Regions from separate parts of the Homo sapiens genome. Here all the other regions are linked to region 1. The links are contacts of gene promoters, found by promoter capture Hi-C in blood cells and fetal thymus (Javierre and others, 2016). All regions are on one chromosome and are shown on one strand. Each heading gives the region's core, a stretch centred on a gene start or on the middle of the fragment in contact. The rest is flanking DNA. Distances are from core to core; before and after follow the strand shown. Region 1 holds the start of COX5A (cytochrome c oxidase subunit 5A). Region 2 holds the start of CYP1A2 (cytochrome P450 family 1 subfamily A member 2). Region 3 has its middle 15 kb from the start of CSK.

Region 1 (4,002 bases), core at 505-3,004:
AAAAACAAGGAGTCAGTTTCCCAAGATGGACTTTGGTTTCCTTTTCTATAAAATAAAATGGCTTCCACGATCTCTAAAGTACACTCTAGGTTGGCTGCAGTGGCTCATGCCTATAATCCCAAACTTTGGGAGGCTGAGGTGGGAGGATCACCTGAGCCCAGGAGTTCAAGCCCAGCCTGGGCAACATAGGGACACTCCGTCTCTAATTTAAAAATAAATAAATAAACAAAAATAAAGTACCCTCCAGCCTTATGGTTCTACGACAAATGATAAAAGTCTAAAATGAATGAAGCAAAACATATTCTTTTTTTTTTTTTTTTTTTTTTGAGACGGAGTCTCGCTCTGTCGGCCAGGCTGGAGTGCAATGGCGCGATTTCGGCTCACTGCAACCTCCGCCTCTCAGGTTCAAGCGATTCTTGTGCTTCAGCCTCCCGAGTAGCTGGGATTACAGGCGCCCACCACCACACCCAGCTAAATTTTTTGTATTTTTAGTACAGACAGGGTTTCACCATGTTGGCCAGGCTGGTCTTGAACTCCTGACCTCAGGTGATCCGCCCGCCTCGGCCTACCAAAGTGCTGGGATTACAGGCATGAGCCACCGCGCCCGGCTGAGTTCTTTTTTTAATTTTTAACTTCAGCATACCCTGAAACGAGTTTCTGAGTTCTTATGTTTAAATACGCATGCATAGTTGCCAGTGATGCAGGTTCAAAAATAAAATATAATATGCATGCATAGAAGCTAAATTTCACGGACCAAGATCGAAGTGCAATTACTGTAATTATTCTATGGTGGTGGACTCAAAACCTCCCAGCACACATATAAAGGGAAGGAAAATAGACAAAAATCAGAAGCACGTCTCATACTCCAGCAATCAGGCTTCTATTACAAAGGGGAAAAAACACGAAGCGTTCCTATGCTTGTAAAACCCAGTATTCCTGTGTCTGTGACATTCAGTTTTCAAAAGAGTGATATTTTTATCATAAGCCCTATCAAAACTCTGGCTATCTTCCGGAGATCAGGAAACAACCACACACTTCCATCTATTTTAAACGTGGAAGAATTAGAACGTGGCACAGCAGACCCTAAAAATGATGGAAAAGGCTGTGAAGGTGACACACTAATCGCTAACCGAGAAATGCCTGATTGAAAAGTATAATCGTGTGTCCCATACGGAAGTATATTGTGTCCTCGGACCCCAAGCGGCGTGCCCGGAGGCTCAATGTCACCTTCGCCGAGGCGCTGCAGGCCGGCGGCGGCCACTCTCGGTCAGGTGGCCGCAGGGTCGGCGCTGGGGCAGGGTCATGGCCCGGGAACCGAAGGGGAGCGCTGCGTCCCCTCCTCGGCGCCCACAGCAGGTCCACATCTGACCTGTCCGCGGTGGCACAGCCAGGAAGTTGCGCGGGGGGAGGCCCCGGGGGCGCGCTTTCAGGTCCTCCACTACTCGAGGCGGCGGGCAGGGCGGCCCGCGGTCACCGGGTTCAGTAACCAGGGTAGGGCAAGGGCTAGGCCGGGGAGAGCCCGCCCCGGAGTGGCAGCGGGGACCCAGGTCACCGCAAGGACACGAGGGCGCGGGCAGTGGCAAGCAGGGGCCTTACCCACGGCGGGGCCGGGGGTCCGGGCGGAGTGCAGGAGGCCTCGAGGGTCGGCCCGGGTGGTTGCGGCCACAGCGCAGCGGCGGAGAGCGGCGCCCAGCATGACGGCGATGGCGGCGCGCGGGCTGAGGACAGAGAGAAGCCGGTGTAAGCTCGCGGGTTGCTCCGGAGCGGGCGGGGGCCGGACAGGCTCACAGCGGGCGGAGCACGTAGGCCCGCCCACTGCGACTCTGGCGCGTGGGCGGGAGGAGCCACCGCGCGGCCGGCGGCGGCGGGGGCTACGGCGGCGCGCTGAGGACAAACTGTTAGCCTCGCGTCCCGCCTTGTCTCTGGTCAGGTGACGTGCAGCTGCCATCCTGTAAGTAGGAATGGAGGCGAGGGAGGAGCAACCGACCGTGATCTTGTTCGAGTCAGGCCCAGGAGGGCACTTAATCACCTCAAAATAGGAATGACAGCAATAACAACAAACTATAATAAAAAATACGTACTTTGCGCCCGGGCGCTGTGGCTCATGCCTGTAATCCCAGCACTTTTGGGAGGCCGAGGCGGGCGGATCACCTGCGGTCGGGAGTTCAAGACCAGCCTGGGCAACATGGAGGAACCCCCGTCTCTACTAAAAATACAAAATTAGCCAGGCGTGGTGGCGCAACGCATGCCCGCAATCCCAGCTACTCGGGAGGCTGAGGCAGGAGAATCGCTTGAACCCAGGAGGAGGAGGTTGCGGTGAGCCGAGATGGTGCCATTGCACTCCAGCCTGGGCAACAAGAGCGAAACTCCGTCTCAAAAAAACCAAACAAAACAAAAACCTACTTTGCTTAGCCCCGCCTTCTCATTGTGGCATAAAATAAAACAGCGAATGGGGGAAAGAATGCCGCTGGACGCGGTTGCTCACGCCTGTAATCCTAGCACTTTGGGAGCCCAAGGCGGGCGGATCACCTGAGGTCGGGAGTTCGAGACCAGCCTGACCAACATGGAGAAACCCCTGTCTCTACTAAAAATGCAAAATTAGCCAGGTGTGGTGGCGCATGCCTGTAATCCCAGCTATTTGGGAGGCTGAGGCAGGAGAATTGCTGGAACCCAGGAGGCAGAGGTTGCAGTGAGTTGAGATCGCACCATTGCACTCCAGCCTGGGCAACAAGATCAAAACTCCATCTCAAAAAAAAAAAAGGCCTATGCGTAAGGGATTTTATTAGTACATATTCTTATATCACAAACCAGCTTGCATAAAAAATGAGTTAAACTACTTCATTTCACAGATTAGGAAAGAGGCTCAGAAATTAGGTTGCTGCTGGCAGTCAAGGATCTTTTCGCCACATCCCCAGTTCTGAGGACTCTCACCTGAATGTTTCCCATCTCCTACAGGAGGGCTCCTGAATCCACGATGGCTCTGAAATAGGGTTGATCAAGTTCCACAGTTGTTGCATCTTATCTCACTAGCTACATCCTAACTTTGAGCCCCTGGGCAGTCAAGGACACCTCTCCCAGGCCTGAAGTATCTGGATGCTGCCCAGAGTTAATGAGACATTGTATTCTGTCTTGCTGTCTCCCATTCTCTATCCCTGGGCACACTGAGGAAAGAAAAGGTGGCCATTCATGTGCCACTTCCTCACTTCAGGCCGACTCTCCAGGGCCTCAGCATCTGCCCTTCTCTTTTTCCTCCCTAGCAGTGTGGCTTCAGTGGGTAGGAACCTGGCGGGGAAAAGGATTTTTAAAATGTTTTCAAAGCACCTGCCCTCACCGTTTCCCACCAACCTAGTGCTGGGGCTTAGAAAACAATACCACAAAGTGAAGGCCTATGAAGCAGTTTCTCTCTGACCTTCTGCCCTCTTGTCTCTTGCCCCTTACTCTCCCTCCAGGCATGCCACAGAAACTAGAATCCCTCCTCCCCAAGAGGGGGTCTAGAAAGTAGAACCCCTTTGTCCCAAAGCCAGCCATAAAGCCTAAAAATATTGCTCTAACCTTTCTCTTTGCCTTTCTATGTAACAGCTGGCCATAAAGAAATTAAGGCCGAGCACGGTGGTTCACGCCTGTAATCCTAGCACTTTGAGCCGCCAAGGCCAGGAGATCACTTGAGGTCAGGAGTTTGAGACCAGCCTGGCCAACATGGTGAAACCCCATCTCTATTAAAATTACTAACATTAGCCAGAAATCACTTGAACCCAGGAGGTGGAGGTTGCGGTGAGGCGAGATCACACCACTGCACTCCAGCCTGGGTGACAGAGCTAGACTCCGTCTCAAAAATAAAATTTTTTAAAAAAAAGGAGAAAAGGAAACATGGCCAGGTATGGTGGCTCATGCCTGTAATCCCAGCACTTTGGGAGGCTGAGGTGGGAAGATCACCTGAGGTCGGGAGTTCGAGACCATCCTGGCCAACATGGTGAAACCCCGTCTCTACGAAAAATACAAAAA
Region 2 (4,002 bases), core at 393-2,892, 190 kb before region 1:
GGAGGCTGAGGCAAGAGGATTGTTTGAGCTCAGGAGGTCGAGGCTGCAGTGAGCCATGATTGTGGCACATGAACCCCAACCTGGGTGACAGAGCAAGACTCTGTATCTAAAAAAAAAAAAAAAAGATAGCAAACTTCCTTTTCACATCCAATTTAAGGCTTGTCCTCCTCCTCCTCTTAGATCTGACTGAGATCTGGGTCCATATTAAAGACTCCTTTAGTACAACAAACACCATATATCCTCACGTAAGTCCATGAATATCTGACATTTCTCATATCTACTTTCTCTCGATTTATTGATAGATAGGTATACATTGTTTTAATTTTATGGGTACATAGTAGGTGTATATATGTATGGGGTACATGAAATGTTTTGATACAGGCATGCAATATGAAATAAGCATTCATGGAGAATGGAGTATCCATCCCCTCAAGCAAGGATAAACCTTTGAGTTACAAACAATCCAATTACACTCTTTAAAGGTGTACATTTTTTTTTTTTTTGAGACGGAGTCTCACTCTGTCGCCCAGGCTGGAGTGGAGTGGCACGATCTTGGCTCACTGCAGCCTCCACCTCCCAAGTTCAAGCCATTCTCCTGCCTCAGCCTCCCGAGTAGCTGGGATCACAGGCACATGCCACCATGCCTGGCTAATTTTTGTATTTTTAGTAGAGACGGAGTTTCACCAGGTTGGCCAGGCTGGTCTTGAACACCTGATCTCAGGTGATCCGCCCATCTCGGCCTCTCAAAGTGCTGGGATTACAGGTGCGAGCCATCGCGCCTGGCCTAGAGGTGTACATTTTTTAACAGAACCATTCAAAAGGAGGTTGTGGGGATCATGACACTTCCATGCTACAGCATTAATCTCCTAAGAATAAGGATACACTCCCACATACCATGACACTCTGTTCACACCTAAAAAAATTTACATTTATTCCAGAATATCATCTAATCTCCAGTCCGTGCTTACATGTCCCCAATTGTCCCCAAAACATCTTTTATAGATTTTTTTAAAATTTTGTTTAAATGCCATATCCAATCGATATGGCAATCAAATGCAAATCCATATTGCATTTGGTTATGTCTCTTAGTCTTTTTGCATAAGGGGGGCCTCTCTTTAGGATGCAAAATCTTTATCATCTCTTCTTTTCCACTTGGGGACTTGGGCTGAAAATCAGGAGTGGCTGGAACACGCCCATTTACTGTTTGGTTTTGCAGGTTGTTGGAGGGTACTACAGAAGAACATCCCTCTGGAGAGGGGCCGTGAGCCTGGTTGGCCTAGACTGAGTGCCCTGGCAGAGCTCTTCCTCATGTGTGCAGTGGGAAAGAAGCCCAGATCAGTCCAAAGGCCTAACCCCCACTCCCAGACCCTACCCTACTCTTCAGAGAAATAGGCTCCCTACCCTGAACCCTAAAGACAGCTGTACCTTCATCCCCAGGGACCCAGCACCCCTTCTGGCCTATCCCCAAAGAGTCACCCTGGGTCTTAGGTAGTAGGTGGAGCTGAGGGATAATGGCCCAAGGCCAAGAGTTGATCCTTCCAACTTTGTTCAGTGATCCAGCTTTCATATCAGGTGATCAGGACAACCAGGCCAATCTGATAGGGGGCGGTGTTTATAAAAAGGCCACTCACCTAGAGCCAGAAGCTCCACACCAGCCATTACAACCCTGCCAATCTCAAGCACCTGCCTCTACAGGTACCTTTCTTGGGACCAATTTACAATCTCTGGGATCCCCAACTATAGAACCTGGAAGCTAGTGGGGACAGAAAGACGGGGAGCCTGGGCTAGGTGTAGGGGTCCTGAGTTCCGGGCTTTGCTACCCAGCTCTTGACTTCTGTTTCCCGATTTTAAATGAGCAGTTTGGACTAAGCCATTTTTAAGGAGAGCGATGGGGAGGGCTTCCCCCTTAGCACAAGGGCAGCCCTGGCCCTGGCTGAAGCCCAACCCCAACCTCCAAGACTGTGAGAGGATGGGGACTCATCCCTGGAGGAGGTGCCCCTCCTGGTATTGATAAAGAATGCCCTGGGGAGGGGGCATCACAGGCTATTTGAACCAGCCCTGGGACCTTGGCCACCTCAGTGTCACTGGGTAGGGGGAACTCCTGGTCCCTTGGGTATATGGAAGGTATCAGCAGAAAGCCAGCACTGGCAGGGACTCTTTGGTACAATACCCAGCATGCATGCTGTGCCAGGGGCTGACAAGGGTGCTGTCCTTGGCTTCCCCATTTTGGAGTGGTCACTTGCCTCTACTCCAGCCCCAGAAGTGGAAACTGAGATGATGTGTGGAGGAGAGAGCCAGCGTTCATGTTGGGAATCTTGAGGCTCCTTTCCAGCTCTCAGATTCTGTGATGCTCAAAGGGTGAGCTCTGTGGGCCCAGGACGCATGGTAGATGGAGCTTAGTCTTTCTGGTATCCAGCTGGGAGCCAAGCACAGAACACGCATCAGTGTTTATCAAATGACTGAGGAAATGAATGAATGAATGTCTCCATCTCAACCCTCAGCCTGGTCCCTCCTTTTTTCCCTGCAGTTGGTACAGATGGCATTGTCCCAGTCTGTTCCCTTCTCGGCCACAGAGCTTCTCCTGGCCTCTGCCATCTTCTGCCTGGTATTCTGGGTGCTCAAGGGTTTGAGGCCTCGGGTCCCCAAAGGCCTGAAAAGTCCACCAGAGCCATGGGGCTGGCCCTTGCTCGGGCATGTGCTGACCCTGGGGAAGAACCCGCACCTGGCACTGTCAAGGATGAGCCAGCGCTACGGGGACGTCCTGCAGATCCGCATTGGCTCCACGCCCGTGCTGGTGCTGAGCCGCCTGGACACCATCCGGCAGGCCCTGGTGCGGCAGGGCGACGATTTCAAGGGCCGGCCTGACCTCTACACCTCCACCCTCATCACTGATGGCCAGAGCTTGACCTTCAGCACAGACTCTGGACCGGTGTGGGCTGCCCGCCGGCGCCTGGCCCAGAATGCCCTCAACACCTTCTCCATCGCCTCTGACCCAGCTTCCTCATCCTCCTGCTACCTGGAGGAGCATGTGAGCAAGGAGGCTAAGGCCCTGATCAGCAGGTTGCAGGAGCTGATGGCAGGGCCTGGGCACTTCGACCCTTACAATCAGGTGGTGGTGTCAGTGGCCAACGTCATTGGTGCCATGTGCTTCGGACAGCACTTCCCTGAGAGTAGCGATGAGATGCTCAGCCTCGTGAAGAACACTCATGAGTTCGTGGAGACTGCCTCCTCCGGGAACCCCCTGGACTTCTTCCCCATCCTTCGCTACCTGCCTAACCCTGCCCTGCAGAGGTTCAAGGCCTTCAACCAGAGGTTCCTGTGGTTCCTGCAGAAAACAGTCCAGGAGCACTATCAGGACTTTGACAAGGTGAGCCCGGGGTGCAGGTGGCAAGGGGCACCTTGCAGGGCCTGGGTGCAGCCCCTCCCTCCCAGCTCCAGCATGCCCACACAGCTGCTGTGTTGCCAAGGCCTAGGAAGGCTCTGGACACCTCAGACCAGCTGTGTGACCTGGAGCCGACTCTTCCCCTTCTCTGGGCCTCAGTTTCCTCATCCTTGAAGCCCCCTTCTCAGGGCTCCTCAAAGCCCCCAAGAAAAAAGCCCTGGAAATGGGGCCCTAGCAGAGTCCTGCAATGTGGGGGGCCTATGAGTGAGAAAGCTTTCATTCTGCAGAAACCTAAACCCCAACAGAGGCTAATCCCCAGCTCTGGTGTCACGTTGCTTCCCTGTGTTCACACTAACCTTTTCCTTCTTTGAAATTGGACCCCTGGTGTTATTGGGAGGAAGGGTCAATGGGGCATAAAATGACACTTTAAGCCATACCCAGGGCTGCTACCAGCTCCTGCTGCAAGCTGCAACCCCCTGCCTAGAGACCAAGTTGGGAGGATAGGGGGGTACCCAGCCACCAGGTACAGGCCAGGGGAGTGGAGCAACGTTCAGCCTTTGACCTTGGAAGTGCCAGAGGTGCCCCTAAGCTTGTGCCCCCTCAGAACAGTGTCCGGGACA
Region 3 (4,002 bases), core at 864-3,363, 170 kb before region 1:
GAGATCGCGCCACTGCACTCCAGGCTGGGTGACAGAGCAAGACTCCATGTCAAAAAACAAAAAGCAAAAAAAAAAAAAAAAACAACAATCCAGTAAAAAATAGATGAAAAACATGAACTGTTAACAGACACAAATATATTTTAAAATATAAAGAGATGCTTGGCTGCACCTACAATCGGCAAACTACAATTTTTTTTGAGACGAAGTCTCATTCTGTCGCCCAGGCTGGAGAGCAGTGGCACAATCTCGGCCCACTGTAGCCTCCACCTGCCAGGTTCAAGCGATCCTCCCACCTCAGCCTCCCAAGTAGCTGGGATTACAAGTATGCATCACCATGCCTGGCTAATATTTGTATTTTTAGTAGAGACAGGGTTTCATCATGTTGGCCAGGCTGGTCTCCAACTCCTGACCTCAAGTGATCCACCCATCTTGGCCTCCCAAAGTGCTGGGATTACAGGTGTGAGCCACCATGCCTGGCATCAGTGAACTATAACTTAAAACTACAAATATAATTTTTTACCAATTACATTGGGAAAGATGTATGGTGTTAGCAAGGGTGCTGAAAAGTTGGCATTCATATTTATCATTGGTGGAAGTGAATTTTAGTTGAAAAGTAAAGCTTTAAACATTATGCTAAGTGAAATAAGCCAGTTACAAAAACACAAATACCGTATGGTTCCACTTTTGTGAAATACCTAGAATAGTCAAAACCCTACAGATAGACAGAACAGTGGTTGCCTGGGGCTGGGGAGAAGGGGGAATGGGGAGTTAGTGTTTAATGGGTAGGGTTTCAGGTTTACAAGATGGAAAGGGCTCTGGAGATGGACAGTGGTGATGGCTGCACAACATTATGAGTGCATTTAATACCACTAAACTGTGTACTTAAAAATGGTTAAGATGGAGGCTGGGCACGTTGGCTCACTTCTGTAATTCCAGCACTTTGGGAGTCTGAGGTGGGTGGATCACTTCAGGTCAGGAGTTCAGGACCAGCCTGGCCAACATGGTGAAAACCCCATCTCTACTAAAAATATAAAAATTAGCCGGGCATGGTGGCGGGTGCCTGTAACCCCAGCTACTCGGGAGGCTGAGGTGGGAGGATTGCTTGAGCCTGGGAGGTAGAGGTTGCAGTGAGTTGAGATGGCTCCACTGCACTCCAGCCTGGGCAACAGAACGAGAGCCCATTAAAAAAAAAAAAAAAAGGTTGGCTGGGCACAGTGGCTCACACCTGTAATCTCAGCACTTTGGGGGGCTGAGGCAGGAGGATCATCTGAGGTCAAGAGTTCAAGACCAGCCTGGCCAACATGGTGAAACTCTGTCTCTATTAAAACTACAAAAATTAGCTGGGCATTGGGAGGCAGAGGTTGCAGTAAGCCCAGATCATGCCACTGCGCTCCAGCCTGGGCAACAGAGCGAGACTCCATCTCAAAAAAAAAAAAAATAGCCAGGTATGCCGGGCGCGGTGGCTCACGCCTGTAATCCCAGCACTTTGGGAGGCTGAGGCGGGTGGATCACCTGAGGTCAGGAGTTCGAGACCAGCCTCAACATGGAGAAACCCCGTCTCTACTAAAAGCACAAAATTAGCCAGACATAGTGGTGAATGCCTGTAATCTCAGCTACTCGGGAGGCTGAGGCAGGAGAATTGTTTGAACCCAGGAGGCGGAGGCTGCAGTGAGCCAAGATTGTGCCATTGCACTCCAGCCCAGGCGAAGGAGCGAGACTCCATCTGAAAAAAGAAAAGAAAAGAAAAGAGGAGGGTGGGCGCGGTGGGTCACGCCTGTAATCCCAGCACTTTGGGAGGCTGAGGCGGGCGGATCACAAGGTCAGGAGTTCGAGACCAGCCTGGCCAATATGGTGAAACTCTGTCTCTACTAAAAATACAAAAATTATCCGGGAGTGGTGGCGGATGCCTGTAGTCCCAGCTACTCGGGAAGCTGAGACAGGAGAATCGCTTGAACCCGGGAGGCGGAGGTTATAGTGAGCCAAGATCGAGATCGGACCACTGCACTCCAGCCTGGGAGATAGAGCGATACTTTGCTTCAAAAAATAAAAAATCAAAAAAAAAAAAAAGAGGAAAAAGAGTTCTAGGCAGAGGGACCAACCTGTGCAAAGGTCCTGAGGCAGGAAAGGGGTTACTGTGTGCTTGAAGGCAAATTATCACCCCTCTTAGGAAAGGCATAGCCTCACCTGTGAAATAACCCAAATTTAGAGATGGAGAGACAGAGGTTCAGAGAGGGAAGATGGCTTCTTCAGGAAAGCAGAAGAGCCAGAACTGAAACCTAGATCTTTTTGGCTCTATGAACTCAGAGGTATTTCAGGTATGCATTTGGGGACCTTTTGCAAGATTGTAAAGACCAGGACGGGAAGGAAAGGGCCACCCTCCGGGGGCTTTTCTTTTCCTGGGAAGAAGGTCTTCTTTCCAGGAAGGTGGTGTACGGGCAAGGCTGAAAACCCAGCCTTCATTCTGCCAGGCCAGTCCCCTCCTAGTCCCTGCTGCCCCAGGGCTGCAGAATCCTATCCTGGCTCCTGCCAGGCTCCCCTGCAGCTGGGCAAACAGGCAGTGGGTGGGACTCGGTATAATTTCCTCCTTGCCCGCCTGGGGTCTGCTAGGCTCTGGCTGAGCTCTCTGGCCTCTGCCCTGCACCCCCAACTTGGAGCCCAAAGGGGGTCATGGGTCTTTCTGCCCTGTGTCCCCAGGGATGCACCCGATGAGTTTGAGAAGGGGCTGCCTTCTCACCCAGAGAGAGGTGAGGCCATCCCCTCACCCAGAGAGGGGCTCCAGGCCCCACTCCAAGGGAGAGTCAGAACTTCCCGGTGCCTACAGGCGCACTGTGCTAAACCAGTGTGAGCATCCTGCGCTGATAATGCTACATGCATAAGCTGCGGATGCACAGGGGCTCAGACTCAGGGGACTGTGGGGAGTCCTGGCAGCCACATATACATCGGGCTCACCCCTGTAGCACCCCATCTAGAAAAGCCCATCCAGAGCCAGAAGGGGCTTCTGGGGATGGTTCCTGGAAGGGCTGGGTTCTGCTGTTCTCTGAGTGACCAATCCACCCATTCTTTCCAGAAATGGTCCTATCCCATCTCCTTCCCCTCCAGCCGCTCTCGGTTCCCTGCCCTCATCCACCCAGGATGTCACTGGGCCTGCTGCGAGTGGCTGCCCGGGGAAAAGGCCAGGAGCTCTGCAATGAGCCTGTAATCCCAGCACTTTGGGAGGCTGAAGTGGGTAGATACGCACTACACACAAGCCAGCACCAGGTTCCTCCCACCCAGGGGATGACAGAGGAGCTCCAGCTCACCACCGTGCCTCAAGTCCCCTGCTTAACTGTCCTATGTGAGCTCAGGGCCGCCCTCTGGGGGCTTTTCTTTTATTTATTTATTTATTTATTTATTTATTTATTTATTTATACTTTAAGTTTTAGGGTACATGTGCACAATGTGCGGGGCTCCCTTCCTCCCAGCAGCCATGCTGTCACGTGCTCCTTGCCCCGGAGAGGCAGGAATCTGTCCCGAAATGTCGAGCTGAAACGCTTCCTGGACGCTTGCTACAACCGTGGTCTTCAAATTCTACTAAATTTTTCCAGTGGCAGGATTCACTGTTGAAAGGAAAGCTTCCCACCTTGCCTGTTCCTCCTAACCCCAAAAAAGTCGGGCTTGTGATCTATGGGGAGAAGAATAGCCCCCGCCCCACACCCATCTGATGCCCAATTCTTCCCAATCCATCAGCCCCCAGCCCTGTCCTCATGTCAGGATCTGCCCGCGTCACTCTCCCCAGCCAAGAACTGGAGCCGAAAATGCAGTGTAGGCTGCCCCCTCGTGGGCAGTTAGAGAAACACATGTTTCTCATAGCTGCTAGCCTTTACCCACTGTCTTGGGGACCCCACCCCAAATAAAAAGGCAACCTAAGGAATAAGCGACTTTGTTTTGCAAATACAACTTCAAGACAAGTCTCAAGTCAGTCCTATGCAGAAATTCTAGAGAAGCCACTAAGAGTGGCCAGAG

What was found. Contacts are between HindIII fragments. The CHiCAGO score rates a contact against its expected background, and 5 or more counts as called.
Region 2: the fragment with the promoter of CYP1A2 here is called in contact with the fragment with the promoter of COX5A in region 1 in 4 of 17 cell types (naive B cells, non-activated CD4 T cells, total B cells and 1 more); the score reaches 6.5 in naive B cells.
Region 3: a contact is called between a fragment that was not itself captured here and the fragment with the promoter of COX5A in region 1, in 2 of 17 cell types (non-activated CD4 T cells and naive CD8 T cells). The highest score is 5.9, in non-activated CD4 T cells.

The regions. Positions count from the first base shown.
Region 1 is chr15:74,936,319-74,940,320 of GRCh38, forward strand. It overlaps COX5A (cytochrome c oxidase subunit 5A), which reads right to left and starts at 1,755. Exons shown (of 5, transcript NM_004255.4): 1 at 1,597-1,755. The coding sequence starts at 1,696. RefSeq lists a silencer at 1,449-2,008. The HindIII fragment of the contact is 6,406 bases long and covers 1-4,002 here.
Region 2 is chr15:74,747,203-74,751,204 of GRCh38, forward strand. CYP1A2 (cytochrome P450 family 1 subfamily A member 2) reads left to right here and starts at 1,643. Exons shown (of 7, transcript NM_000761.5): 1 at 1,643-1,695; 2 at 2,528-3,367; 3 at 3,987-4,002. The coding sequence starts at 2,537. RefSeq lists a cis regulatory region at 1-312 and promoters at 1-1,733, 1,399-2,536. The HindIII fragment of the contact is 9,803 bases long and covers 1-3,653 here.
Region 3 is chr15:74,765,218-74,769,219 of GRCh38, forward strand. No RefSeq gene overlaps it. Among named protein-coding and RNA genes, the nearest start is that of CSK, 15 kb to the right of the region's middle. RefSeq lists an enhancer at 2,117-2,894. The HindIII fragment of the contact is 2,992 bases long and covers 618-3,609 here.